Linked DNA regions of Homo sapiens: all the other regions are linked to region 2. The links are contacts of gene promoters, found by promoter capture Hi-C in human tissues and cell types (Jung and others, 2019). All regions are on one chromosome and are shown on one strand. Each heading gives the region's core, a stretch centred on a gene start or on the middle of the fragment in contact. The rest is flanking DNA. Distances are from core to core; before and after follow the strand shown. Region 1 has its middle 7.8 kb from the start of NACA2. Region 2 holds the start of TBX4 (T-box transcription factor 4). Region 3 has its middle 84 kb from the start of NACA2.

Region 1 (4,439 bases), core at 872-3,371, 150 kb before region 2:
TGGGAAGATCGCTTAAGCCCAGGAGTTGGAGGCTGCAGTGAGCTATGATCACGCCACTGCACTCCAGCCTGGGTGACAGACTTGTCTCAGAAAAAAAAAAAAAAAAAAAAAAGCTTGGCTTAGAGGTGATGTCAAAGTAGCTGTATAAAATAGAGTCAAGATCTGTTCTGGAATTAAAATAAACAGGACTGAGTGAAGAGGAAAATGTGTGGGAAAAGGGATATTGAATTAGAGTTCTTTGGTTGCTAATAATAAAAATCAAATCTGGCTTAAACAAAAAGGGAATTTTAAAAATAAGGATATTGGACAACTAAAAAAATTGATCAAAAGGGTGGAGAACTAGGCTTAGAAATGACAGGGGCCAAGTCAGTAGGAGCTAATTGACATTTTCACTGGGCTACTGCCACTGGAATGAAAGAGGTCCTACTGATTTTTCCTGTCTCACTGCACTTGTGACTCGAGTGGGAGGGAGGAAGGACCTTGTGTAGGAAGGAAAGAAGTTTAATATTGAGTTTGGTGGGGCAGAAAACAGGAAAATGCCGTCTAGACTTAAGAGGTCACTGGGAAGCTGAAGTCAATTGCTTTGATAATAGGAGAACTAAAGAGAAGTCCCAGAAAAGGCACTCCCAGCTAGCTGAGTTTAAGCCATATGGTTGGCTTTTGATAATCAAGACAATAAGAGTTACAGATCTTATGGAAGGAGGATATAATTGCATCTGAGAGCCCCATCAGCTTTCATAGAGCAAGGACAAGGTATCTCGATTTATAATATTCAAAATTTAGTAAAGAAAATCCTCACCCCCCAAATGTTAGGGTGATGTTAGGGAGGAAGATTGAATTTCAGATAGCCAAAGAAACATCAGATGCCCACCACAGAGGGGGAAGTCTAGGATGACTCCCTTTCTCAGACAATAGAGTTCTTGGACTTTACAAACACAAATATCTGGTTAACCCTCTTTAACAGTTAAGAGTCCAAATGATAGAAACATAAAAAACATCTTTACTCAAGGACCTGAGCTCTTTGCAGACTTTCTAGCTGAAAACAATTCAATTGTTGGGGGGCACACCCTTCAACAAATGAAAAATCAATTTTGGGACAAGATAAAGTATAGTCCCAAGTGCATACTAACGGGTTGGCAGCCAAGTACTTCTAACCTTCTGCACTTAGAGCCCTCTTTAACTCTCTTAAAGACTGAAAGACATCTTCTTTAGTTCTCCTATTATCAAAACTATTAAATTCAGCCTCTCAGCGACCTCTAAGTCTAGACAGCATTTTCTGTTGTCTGCCCCACCAAACTCATTATTAAACTTTCCTTCCTACACAATGTCCTCCCTCTCTCCCTTCCTTTTCTTCCTTCTCTGATCCAAGTAAGCAGTACTGTGGAATTTGAGGTCAGAAGCATGTGCTATTGCATAGGGGTACACCATTGAGAGGGATAACTTTTAGACTTAAGGACCTGCCATCTGCAACCAAACAACATCTAGAGAGCTGGGCATCTAATGTTCCACTTCGTGAGCATTAAGGGTGAATGCTATTCGTACTCTGGTCAAAAGCCCAGCCATTAGGAGTTCCAGAGAACAAATTCAACGTGGAAAATCCTGTAGTATTTAGAAAATTGGAATTGGTTCTCTAATTAAGTGATGATTAAATCTGTGATCCTCTTTGAAGACATAGCACTATTATCTGGACACAGCTCTGGAAGGTACATTTGTGAAGATGAGCCTGGATAAATGGGAACTACTCTAATAAGCTGAGATCTTTTAACAAACATGTTGGGGACAAAACGAATGTGGAAAGACTTATCCGTCCTAGTTAAGAGACTGTGATCTTTTGATCTCCGATCCCACAGTCACCTGTCAATGCAACACTTAGAAGCCATTTCAGATACCTTCTTAAGATTGCAGCTATCTGTGGATGGGGTCTGAACCATGCTTCAGCTTGCCCTATTCCCTTACCTAGTATAGATCCTTGTCCCTAATTTTGAGGCTCAGTCTGCCTGCTGCTTTAGTGAGTTCCAATCTAAATTAATCCCATTGTTTGTGCAATTTTTGATTACTGTTTTGCAATTACCCTTTTTCTGGTCCCTGCCATTTGACCGTGCCACTTGCTTAATTTTATCACAACCCCAATTTACACCATAGAGAAACTAATTTAACGTCTCTTAGTATTTGTAGGCAGGTCTAAGAGCAAAGCCTACACTGGTGAATAACTTCCCACCGGTTTTGAAGATCATCAGTGCAACTAAACCAATGAACACTTTTTAAAGGATGTAATGCCTGAAAGTAATATGATTGGCACTGAAGAGGAAGACAATACAAAGAACAGTCATGGTTCTTGCCTTCAAATAGCTTACTGTCTAGTGAGGGAGACAGCAATAGAAGCAATTAAATACAGTGTAAGTTGATGGAAAACAAGTCCAAAAAGCACCTGATTATACAGAGAGAGGAGTGGCCAGATGAGAACAGGGAAGACTTCACAAAGGAGTTAGAATGGGAGGCCAAGGCAGGAGGATTGCTTGAAGCCAGGAGTTCAAGACCAGCCTGGGCAACACAGGGAGACCCAGTTTCTTAAAACAAACAAACAAACTCAAAATAAGAGCAAATGTTTATATAGTATCATGTACCAGGTACAGGTACTGCTCTGAATGCTTTACATATATTAACTCACTTTAAATTATTTTAATAGGATTTTAATATATAACTATAGAGGGAAGAGCATAAGTCAGACACAAAAGCCTAACTCATAAATTCTTTCTCATCTGTAAAAGGGGTTAGACTAATATTATCTCCTTCTCAAAACTGATCAGAAAACTATCTAGATTAGACTGATTGGAGAAGTAAGCCAGGTGGCCGAATAGAGATACCCTGAAACAAGATCTTGTTTCAGGGTATCTCTGTGTTTATTCTCTGTACTACAAAAAGCTAGATTATGGAGCCACTTTACCTACCTGTAACTGTGGCCTTATATTATTTTTTACGTATAAATCTCAACAAGTAGTACAGGATTTTTTTCCCATTCAAACAAGATAAGTATTTAAGGGTGTGTTGCTGTAGACACAAGGGAAGTACAAGAGAAAGAAAGGGCTACTTTCCCCAGCCACGAGCACAGGAAAAAGCCCTAAGCCCTTGGGTAGAGGCAACAAAAGCAGGAGTTTAGTATTTCATCACAGAACCCAAGAGAATAATCTCTAATTATCCAGGTAGGGAAGAAAAGACACTTAGACCATTTGTCTAATGCTATGGAAGGAGCTGGTGTTGGGCAATGGATTAAATCTAATTCAGCTAATATATTTGATCAGATGCAGTTAGAATAACCTTTCAGGTTTAGACTGAGGGACTCAGGTTGCTAAATAAGCAGGAGGTAGAACGCATGACTCTGATAATTGTGGCTAATTTTGAACTACCATATCCTGCCTGTAAGCAAGCAAGCTGTCATTTTGAGACCAGGGCCAGCCCTTCATTTCCATTTACAGTCCTGTGAACCCCTGAGGCATACAAATTAAAGCTGGCCACTTATGGAGATCTCTTTGGGACCACTTATATGAAATGACGAATAGGGTTAAATTCTAAAAAATTAAATCTAAAGAGATTTCCCAGAAGTTATGCATAAACCGTCATTAGGTACATTTTCCATTTTGAATTCTTGTGGATAGGAGCCAATAGGATGGTGAGGCCAGCATCACATACTGCAATATGCTCAGTACTTAAATGCTTTGTATTTGAATCTTTCATATTTTTGGCTGGGCATAAAGCAGCATCTTTCAAGCCAAGTAAGAATAATGAAAGAGAGAAAGCTTAGGTAAAAAAATAAAAAAAAAAACCTATTTTTTTTTATTATTTCTTTATTTTTAGTAAAATCTTTAATTTCAAATTAGAGACATTTTCTAGACAACATGAAGGTTTAGCAATTTTCTACTGAAAATCAGAAATTCATTTGGGATCACTGAAACTTTAAAAAAAATTCACCTAATGTTGAGGATGGTGAAATATGACAATTTCAAATAAAACAATTCTGTCTCTTAACATATGCTAAATGCCAATGAGCCAGTTCTATGGAATTCTACTTGTTGGACTTTATTTTGTTAAAAATTAGTTAGAACCTTCCTCTGATTGTAGTTCTAAACAATTTTTAACATAATTATCTGAAATTGAGTAAAGCATAGCGCTTTTGAGATCTTTTTTTCCCTGATGTTGTTGAATCTTAACAGATTATAAAATATTTTCAAAAAAAGTCTAAACAAAATAATCAAAGTGGAATTCTCCTATAAACCAATTCAGTAGCCTTTGCCACCAGCTTTAAGTGTATATCTCTTCTTCCAGGTAGACATAGCTGGCATTGAGAATGAAGAGAAATGCTACTGTCTATTCATAGAACTCCTGGGATCTAGAAAAATACCAATTTTAATAAGACACTAGAATCATGTGATGCTTTGACACCT
Region 2 (4,561 bases), core at 1,809-4,308:
AGGCCAGCCTGCCCGCATCCCTTAAGGGTGTGCCCCGCTTGCTCCGCTTCCCCTTTCCACCTCCCTGCTCTTCCCCATCCTGCTGGACCTGGGCGCTCCAGCGGAGCTTTCTGTAGGTCTGACGGCCCTTCTTGAGGCGGAATGCCCCGCCTTTCTCTTCCTACCTTCTTCCCGCTCTCCCCGGGCCCTCCCGGAGCATCCCCGGGCTCAGGCCTCTCGCCCATCTTGTTCAGAGGCCTCCTCATCCCGGGCTTAGACTTCGACTCCCAGGACCTCGCAAAGTAAACAAGCCAAGTGCAACCCAGGAGATAAAAAGGGGCCGGGGCCAGTCTGGGTTGGGAAAAACCCATAAAGATAAGGTTGACAGGCGGACCAGTCTTCGGCCACAGCCTGCAGGGAGTGAGACTCGCTGGACATGGCCAGCGCCAGCACCCGCCTCGGGCCACGTGCGAACGCGGGCCGAGCCTCGGAAACCTAGGAGTCCCCACACAGGGCCGCTGCGCCAGTAGGGTAGCTGCCCGCTCCGGCCAGCGCGCTGGGTCCAACTATATCTAGGGCCCCGGCGGGATCGGCTCCAGCGACCAAGCGATCCGCTGGTCCCAGATGTGGCGGCCTGCGGGGTCGCAAGGAGGGGCCGTCTCGCGCTTGGCCCGCATGGCCATGGGGTCCTCTGCTGGGCTCTTGTCACACCCGGAGCCGTGCAGCGGAGCCCTGCGGCTCGCGCCCTGCGCTCTCAGTCCTACGCGCTCAGCCCTGCCCTGTGAGGAGCTGGTTCACCGCCCGCGTCCACTGACGCCGGTCCCGCAGCTCGGACTGGGGACGAGGCCTGCTCAGTGCTCTCCCTCCCGGGCTCAGGGTTTGCCTCTTCCTTTTCTCTCCGCCACGAAGCCACATCCAGACCTCGGGACAGCTTGCCCCCTTCCCAGCAATTTCCTTTTTTCCACGCCCGGCTGGCCCGGGGCGGCCGTCCTCGCGGTCCTCTCGGACCTCGAGCTTGGGCGCGCTCGGCCGCCGCCAGCACCGCGGGGTCCCGCACTCAGCACCGCATAGCGGTCCGCTCTCGTCCTTCACATCCACTCCTCCGCGGGTGCGGCCCGCAACCTCCGCTGCCTTTGCGATGGGGTCTGTTGCTTTCAGCTGCCTCGTTTTCCAAAGACGACAGCATTTCTCTTTTCATTTTTAGGTTACTGGGGATATGTTTCTTGCACTAGGGGAACTGTTACTATTTCGTGCTTTTTAAAATATTTTAATTGTCCTTATTACCATAGTAGTATTTTGATCAGTTCGGGAACTTTGAGAATATCCTATCGCGTGGATTATTACTACTTTGTATCTTTAATACTGTATGGTTAAAGCCCTGCTTTGATTCGTTAGCTTACTGTTACTAAATTTGTTGTTTTCCTGTCACTGTTCCATCATTTCAGGGCCGCCTGGCACATTCATAATACTATTTCCAATATCGAGGTGACATAGTGAACAATAGGTCACGTTAATCTATTGTAATTTTTTATTCTTGCTTTGTATCCCTAATACGTTTCCGTTGCTTGCTCTTCATTTTGATTATACTTTGTCACGCTGTTTCAATAACTTCTTGTTTACCATAACTTGTTATATAATTGTTCTCAAAATTCATGTTAATTTCCCTCACATCCTTATAATACTTCTTGTTATCTAACCACAATTTGTTTTGTTAGGCTTGCTCATAACACTCCAGGTATTATTCTTCAACACACCCCGACAGTATCTTGTTACTTTGTCATTATTTGTAATGTTACAGATCTGAACTCGCTAGTTACTCATCACATCATTACTTCTTGTTATTTTGTCATACTTTGTAATATTGTTGTAGCTCTTAATACTCTGATTATTTTTCATCACATTGGTACAATACTTCTTATTACTCAACCATTATTTATAATGTTCTTGTGACTATTAATACATTGGTCATAAATTGTCATATTACTCCAGCAATTCTTGTTAATATGTCTTTATTTATATTACTATTGCTCCTAAGATTTTAGTTAATATTTCTTTTAATAGTTCACTGTAGTATCAATAATACATTATATTATTATATCACTACCACTAATAGTATTTCCCTTAATAGTATTTTCATTGTTCATCTTTCTCCTACAGTTCGTTTGCTAGTTTCCTACAGTTTGGTAATTTGTTACACTATTACTATATGTTATATTAGTGCAATTGGTTTTAATAAACAGTCCTTACATTGTTCCTCTATTTAGAATTACTTTGTCTTTAATCCTTTTAAAAATTGTGATTACTATTTTCACTTGATTCTGAAAGTGACTATGATTGTATTATTTGGAAGTTCACGTGTTATATCAGTTATGCCGATTAGCCCTTTCTTTGGTAATTGTTCACATTCCAATAATCTTTAATCATCGATCATTATTTATATATAATGTTCCTTGCTTTAATTTTGACTAGTCTATTGCATCAAAGGCTCTGAGTCTAGTGTTCTGATCACTCACATATCTACACGGATTTTCGCTCCAGTACCGGGGCCCTCTTCCTTGGCCTTGCATATTCTGCAAACACCAATTTCCAGGCCACCGCTCCGCCTGTCACGGCCTTGTTCTTAGGGTGCTGGCGCTGTCGATATTTCTATGCTCTTGGATCTCTAGACCCAATTCATCGCGTTACTCAGAGAGGAGGGCTCGTGCCCCAACTACTGGGTGTCGGGCCGAGGCGGCGGCCCGACCCAAGGCACTTCGCGCCGCCTTCCTGCAACTTTGACCGCCCCTGAAGTTCTTCCCCGGGTCGCGTGACTCACCCCTTTCCAGCTCATCCTCCTGTCCGTCCCCGCAGCCTAACCCTGAGCCCCTGTGGCCCCAGCCCCGCACGCCCAGCTCGTCCCCACTCGGCTGGAACCCACACTCACCCTAATTGCGGTGCCGCATGCGGAGGCGCCAGCGGCCCGAGGTCCCCTGCAGGTTCGGGTCCGAGGAGCGCGGGACGGCCGGGGCTCCGACTCCGCGCCGCTGGGTCAGGGTCCAGCTGCCTGCCGTGCCCTCGGGGCTGGACACATCCCGGCTCTGGAGCGGGCCCTTGATCTCCAAGGCTGCACTTTGGGGCCTCAATTCCCTCCTCCTCCCTCCCTCCCTCTGGGGCCGCCCCCCCTCCGCGCTGACGTCGCCGCTGTCAATCAGTCTGCGCCCGCTGTCCCCCGGGGAGGGGGGCTCCAGGGTTCCCCGGCGTCGCGGTCCCCAAGATCCCGAGCCCCACGCGAGCCGCCGGCTCCTCCACCGCGCGGCCCAGTGCCCTCCTCTTGGCCCTCGGGCCCCGCGAGCCGGGTAGGGGCTGGGAGCCCCGCATGGTTTAGATTAGAGAGGCGGGAAGCAAGGGCGAGCAGCCCGGCTCTCAGCCGAGGCTCGACAACCAGGAGGGCTCGCCTGGCCCCGCCGTGCCCGAAGACTAGGACGCTCCACGACCGGGTCTGGCCACCCCCTGCCGGCGCCCGCTTCCAGGCAGCGGCTTCTACGGATCCCCGGCCGCAGAGCCCCGCTCCCCAAGCCCTGCTCCCAGCTGTGCGCGCTGTTCATTTGGGAGCCCCGGTCCCGAGGTCGCAGGCGCACACGCGCCTCACAGGCCCACGCTCCGCTTCCCTACCATGCCCACCACGCGGCCTTGCACTTCCAGGCCCTGGGCACGGCCCTTCTGCTCACCCGCCCTCCTTGTCCCGGCCCAGGGGGCCGCGGGCGCTGGACCCGGCCTGGCGCGCCTCGAAGTCGGCCGCGGAGGTCAGGGGTGAGGACTGGGAGGAAGCCCGGTGGCCGGGTGCGGGGCGGCGGCGGCAGGGAAGTGCTGGGCCGGCCTCTGAGTGGAGCCGAGTCCGGCTCGGGCCTTGACAGAGCCCAGGCCGGGCTGCAAGGTGCCAGGCTTGGCAGAGCCTCCTGGGGAAACTGCGGCCCAGGGCCAGGATTCCGCGGCAGCTCCTTGAGATCCTGGAGAGCTGAAGAGGAAGCCCAATGCCTGCCCTAGTCTAGGAAGTGGAGACTGGGGAGCGTCCTGCTCCCAGCCACCCGGTTCTTTCCGCCTCAGAAACGGAGTCCCGCTCAGCACCTAGACCTCCCTGCCCAGCCTCTGAGCTCTCTGTCTCCACTTACCTCTGTTTCTCTCTGTCTGTACCTCCCACAGGACGCTGCCTTTCCACTAGCAGACGGACCCATGCGGACCCCAGCCCGTGCCCCAGCCTCCCCGCCTGTCACATGCCCAGAATCCTGGGGCAGAAATAGGCCTGCCCACCCATCTGCAAAGACAGCAGAATCCTCATCAATAAGGATCCCCAGAGTGGTCCCTTAGTGCTTAGCATGGGCTGCATCCCTCCCTCCACCAGTGTCCTCAACCAGCCTCTGTCCCTTTCCAGATTCTGACCTCAAAATCAGCTTGAAGGGGAGAGGACAGGGAAATTCTTTTCCTGGATGGGTCTGTCCCTGTTCTAATGCTAGGAAATGGAAAGCCAGCATCAATGCCTTCTTTACCACCCTGCACTCAAAGGTGGAAGCAAAAACGCCAACTCAGAAAAGCCAGTCGCTGCTGC
Region 3 (4,035 bases), core at 903-3,402, 220 kb before region 2:
GAAGTCTTTGCCCATGCCTATGTCCTAAATGGTATTGCCTAGGTTTTCTTCTAGTGTTTTTATGGTTGTAGGTCTAATATTTAAGTCTTCAATCCATCTTGAATTAATTTTGGTGTAAGGTATAAGGAAGGGATCCAGTTTCAGCTTTCTACATATGGCTAGCCAGTTTTCCCAGCACCATTTATTAAATAGGGAAAATTCCTACTTAATATTGGTCTCTTTTTTGGTTGTGTCTCTGCCAGGCTTTGGTGTCAGGATGATGCTGGCCTCATAAAATGAATTAGGGAGGATTCCCTCTTTTTCTATTGATTGGAATAGTTAGAGAAGAAATGGTACCAGCTCCTCTTTGTACCTCTGGTTGAATTTGGCTGTGAATCTCTCTGGTCTTGGACTTTTTTTGGTTGGCAGGCTATTAATTATTGCCTCAATTTCAGAACCTGTTATTGGTCTATTCAGAGATTCACCTTCCTGGTTTAGTCTTGGGAGGGTGTATGTGTCGAGGAATTTATCCATTTCTTCTAGATTTTCTAGTTTATTTGCATAGAGGTGTTTATAGTAGTCTCTGATGGTAGTTTGTATTTCTGTGGGATCGGTGGTGAAATCCCCTTTATCATTTTTTACTGCATCTATTTGATTCTTCTTTCTTTTCTTCTTTATTAGTCTCGCTAGTGGTCTATCAATTTTGTTGATCTTTTCAAAAACCAGCTCTGGATTCACTGACTTATTTTGAAGGGTTTTTTGTGTCTCTATCTCCTTTAATTCTGCTCTGATCTTAGTTATTTCTTGCCTTCTGCTAGCTTTTGAATTTGTTTGCTCTTGCTTCTCTAGTTCTTTTAATTGTGATGTTAGGGTGTCAATTTTAGATCTTTCCTGCTTTCTCTTATGGGCATTTAGTGCTATAAATTTCCCTCTACACACTGAGAGATTCTGGTACGTGGTGTCTTTGTTCTCATTGGTTTCAAAGAACATCTTTATTCCTGCTTTCGTTTTGTTATTTACCCAGTAGTCATTCAGGAGCAGGTTGTTCAGTTTCCATATAGTTGTGTGGTTTTGAGTGAGTTTCTTAATCCTGAGTTCTAATTGGATTGTACTGTGGTCTGAGAGACAGTTTGTTGTGATTTCTGTTCTTTTATATTTGCTGAGGAGTGCTTTACTTCCAATTATGTGGTCAGTTTTGGAATAAGTGCGATGTGGTGCTGAGAAGAATGTATATTCTGTTGATTTGGGGTGGAGAGTTCTGTAGATTTCTATTAGGTCCACTTGGTGCAGAGCTGAGTTCAAGTCCTGGATATCCTTGTTAACCTTCTGTCTTGTTGATCTGTCTAATATTGACAGTGGGGTGTTAAAGTCTCCCATTATTATTGTGTGGGAATCTAAGTCTCTTTGTAAGTCTCTAAGGACTTGCTTTGTGAATCTGGGTGCTCCTGTATTGGATGCATATATATTTAGGATAGTTAGCTCTTCTTGTTGAATTGTTCCCTTTACCATTATGTAATGACCTTGTCTCTTTTGATCTTTGTTGGTTTAAATTCTGTTTTATCAGAGCCTAGGATTGCAACCCCTGCTTTTTTTGGCTTTCCATTTGCTTGACAGATCTTCCTCCATCCCTTTATTTTGAGCCTATGTGTGCACGTGAGATGGGTCTCCTGAATATAGCACACTGATGGGTCTTGACTTTTTATCCAATTTGCCAGTCTGTATCTTTTAATTGGGGCATTTAGCCCATTTACATTTAAGGTTAATATTATTATGTGTGAATTTGATCCTGTCATTATGATGTTAGCTGGTTATTTTGCCCACTAATTGTTGCAGTTTCTTCATAGCATTGATGGTCTTTACAATTTGGCATGTTTTTGCAGTAGCTGGTACTGGTTGTACCATGTTTAGTGCTTCCTTCAGGAGCTATTGTAAGGCAAACCTGGTGGTGACAGAATCTCTCAGCATTTGGTTGTTCGTAAAGGATTTTATTTCTCCTTCACTTATAAAGCTTAGTTTGACTGGATATGAAATTCTGGGTTGAAAATTCTTTTCTTTAAGAATGTTGCATATTGGCTTCCACTCTCTTCTGACTTGTAGGGTTTCTGCCGAGAGATCTGCTGTTAGTCTGATGGGTTTCCCTTTGTGGGTAACCTGACCTTTCTCTCTGGCTGCCCTTAACATCTTTTCCTTCATTTCAACCTTGGTGAATCTGAAAATTATGTGTTTTGGGGTTGCTGTTCTCAAGGAGTATCTTTGTGGTGTTCTCTGTATTTCCTGAATTTGAATGTTGGCCTGCCTTGCTATGTTGGGGAAGTTCTCCTGGGTAATATCCTGAAGAGTGTTTTCCAACTTGGTTCCATTCTCCCCGTCACTTTCAGGTACACCAATCAAACGTAGATTTGGTCTTTTCACATAGTCCCATATTTCTTGGAGGCTTTGTTCGTTTCTTTTTACTCTCTTTAATCTTGTCTTCTTGCTTTATTTCATTAATTTGATCTTCAATCACTGATACCCTTTCTTCCACTTGATCAAATCAGCTGTTGAAGCTTGTGCATGCGTCACGAAGTTCTCATGCCATGGTTTTCAGCTCCATCAGGTCATTTAAGGTCTTCTCTACACTGTTTATTCTAGTTAGCCATTCGTCTAACCCTTTTTCAAGGTTTTTAGCTTTCTTGTGATGGGTTAGAACATGCTTCTTTAGCTCAGAGAAGTTTGTTATTACCGACCTTCTGAAGCCTATTTCTGTCAACTCGTCAAAGTCATTCTCCGTCCAGCTTTGTTCCATTGCTGGTGAGGAGCTGCGATCTTTTGGAGGAGAAGCAGCACTCTGGTTTTTAGAATATTCAGCTTTTCTGCTCTGGTTTCTCCCCTTCTTTGTGGTTTTATCTATCTTTGGTCTTTGATGTTGGTGACCTACAGATGGGCTTTTGGTGTGGATGTCCTTTTTGTTGATGTTGATGCTATTCCTTTATGTTTTGTTAGTTTTCCTTCTAACAGTCAGGTCCCTCAGCTGCAGGTCTGTTGGAGTTTGCTGGAGGTCCCCTCCAGACCCTGTTTGCCTGGGTATCACCAGCGGAGGCTGCAGAACAGCAAATATTGCTGCCTGATCCTTCCTCTGGAAGCTTCGTCCCAGAGGGGCATCTGCCTGTATGAGGTGTCTGTCGGCCCCTACTGGGAGGTGTCTCCCAGTTAGGCTAAACGGGGGTCAGGGACCCACTTGAGGAAGCAGTCTGTCCGTTCTCAGAGCTCAAACGCCGTGCTGGGAGATCCACTGCTCTCTTCAGAGCTGTCAGACAGGGATGTTTAAGTCTGCAGAAGTTTCTGCTGCCTTTTGTTCAGCTATGCCCTGCCCACAGAGGTAGGGTCTACAGAGGCAGCAGGCCTTGCTGGGCTGCAGTGGGCTCCACCCAGTTTGAGCTTCCTGGCCACTTTGTTTACCTACTCAAGCCTCAGCAATGGCGGATGCCCCTCCCCTAGCCAGGCTGCAGCCTTGCAGGTTGATCTCAGACTGCTGCTCTAGCAGTGAGCAAGGCTCCGTGGGCATGGGACCTGCCAAGCCAGGCACAGGAGATAATCTCCTGGTCTGCCGGTTGCTAAGACTGTGGGAAAAGCACAGTATTTGGGTGGGAGTGTCCTGTTTTTTCCAGGTACAGTCTGTCACGGCTTCCCTTGGCTAGGAAAGTGAAATCTCCCAACCCCTTGTGCTTCCTGGGTGAGGCAATGCCCCACCCTGCTTCGGCTCGCCCTCTGTGAGCTGTACCCACTGTCCAACCAGTCCAAATGAGATGAACCAGGTACCTCAGTTGGAAATGCAGAAATCGCCTGTCTTTTCCATTGATCACGCTGGGAGCTGCAGACCAGAGCTGTTCCTATTCGGCCATCTTCTTCCCTGTTTGTCTAACTGATGTTATGGTATTCATATTTAAAGTTAACTATCCTTTCAAAATGTTAATCTTTTTTATCTGTTGTGAAAGCACCCACGGACCTGCCTTGCTAGTCAGCACTTTATGGTATTGCTTATGGAGTTGAATTATTACCTAAAGCAGGAGCAAGTAG

What was found. Contacts are between HindIII fragments. The study calls those that stand out against the background at their distance.
Region 1: a fragment that was not itself captured here is called in contact with the fragment with the promoter of TBX4 in region 2 in 2 of the 25 tissues and cell types used here (IMR-90 fibroblasts and dorsolateral prefrontal cortex).
Region 3: a contact is called between a fragment that was not itself captured here and the fragment with the promoter of TBX4 in region 2, in 2 of the 25 tissues and cell types used here (bladder and heart right ventricle).

The regions. Positions count from the first base shown.
Region 1 is chr17:61,596,840-61,601,278 of GRCh38, reverse strand. No RefSeq gene overlaps it. Among named protein-coding and RNA genes, the nearest start is that of NACA2, 7.8 kb to the right of the region's middle. The HindIII fragment of the contact is 4,338 bases long and covers 1-4,290 here.
Region 2 is chr17:61,450,919-61,455,479 of GRCh38, reverse strand. It overlaps TBX4 (T-box transcription factor 4), which reads right to left and starts at 3,058. Exons shown (of 9, transcript NM_001321120.2): 1 at 2,903-3,058. LOC124904042 (a long non-coding RNA gene) reads left to right here. Exons shown (of 2, transcript XR_007065872.1): 2 at 1-2,238. RefSeq lists enhancers at 1-564, 565-1,446, 2,247-3,088. The HindIII fragment of the contact is 13,471 bases long and covers 1-4,561 here.
Region 3 is chr17:61,672,886-61,676,920 of GRCh38, reverse strand. No RefSeq gene overlaps it. Among named protein-coding and RNA genes, the nearest start is that of NACA2, 84 kb to the right of the region's middle. The HindIII fragment of the contact is 4,606 bases long and covers 1-4,035 here.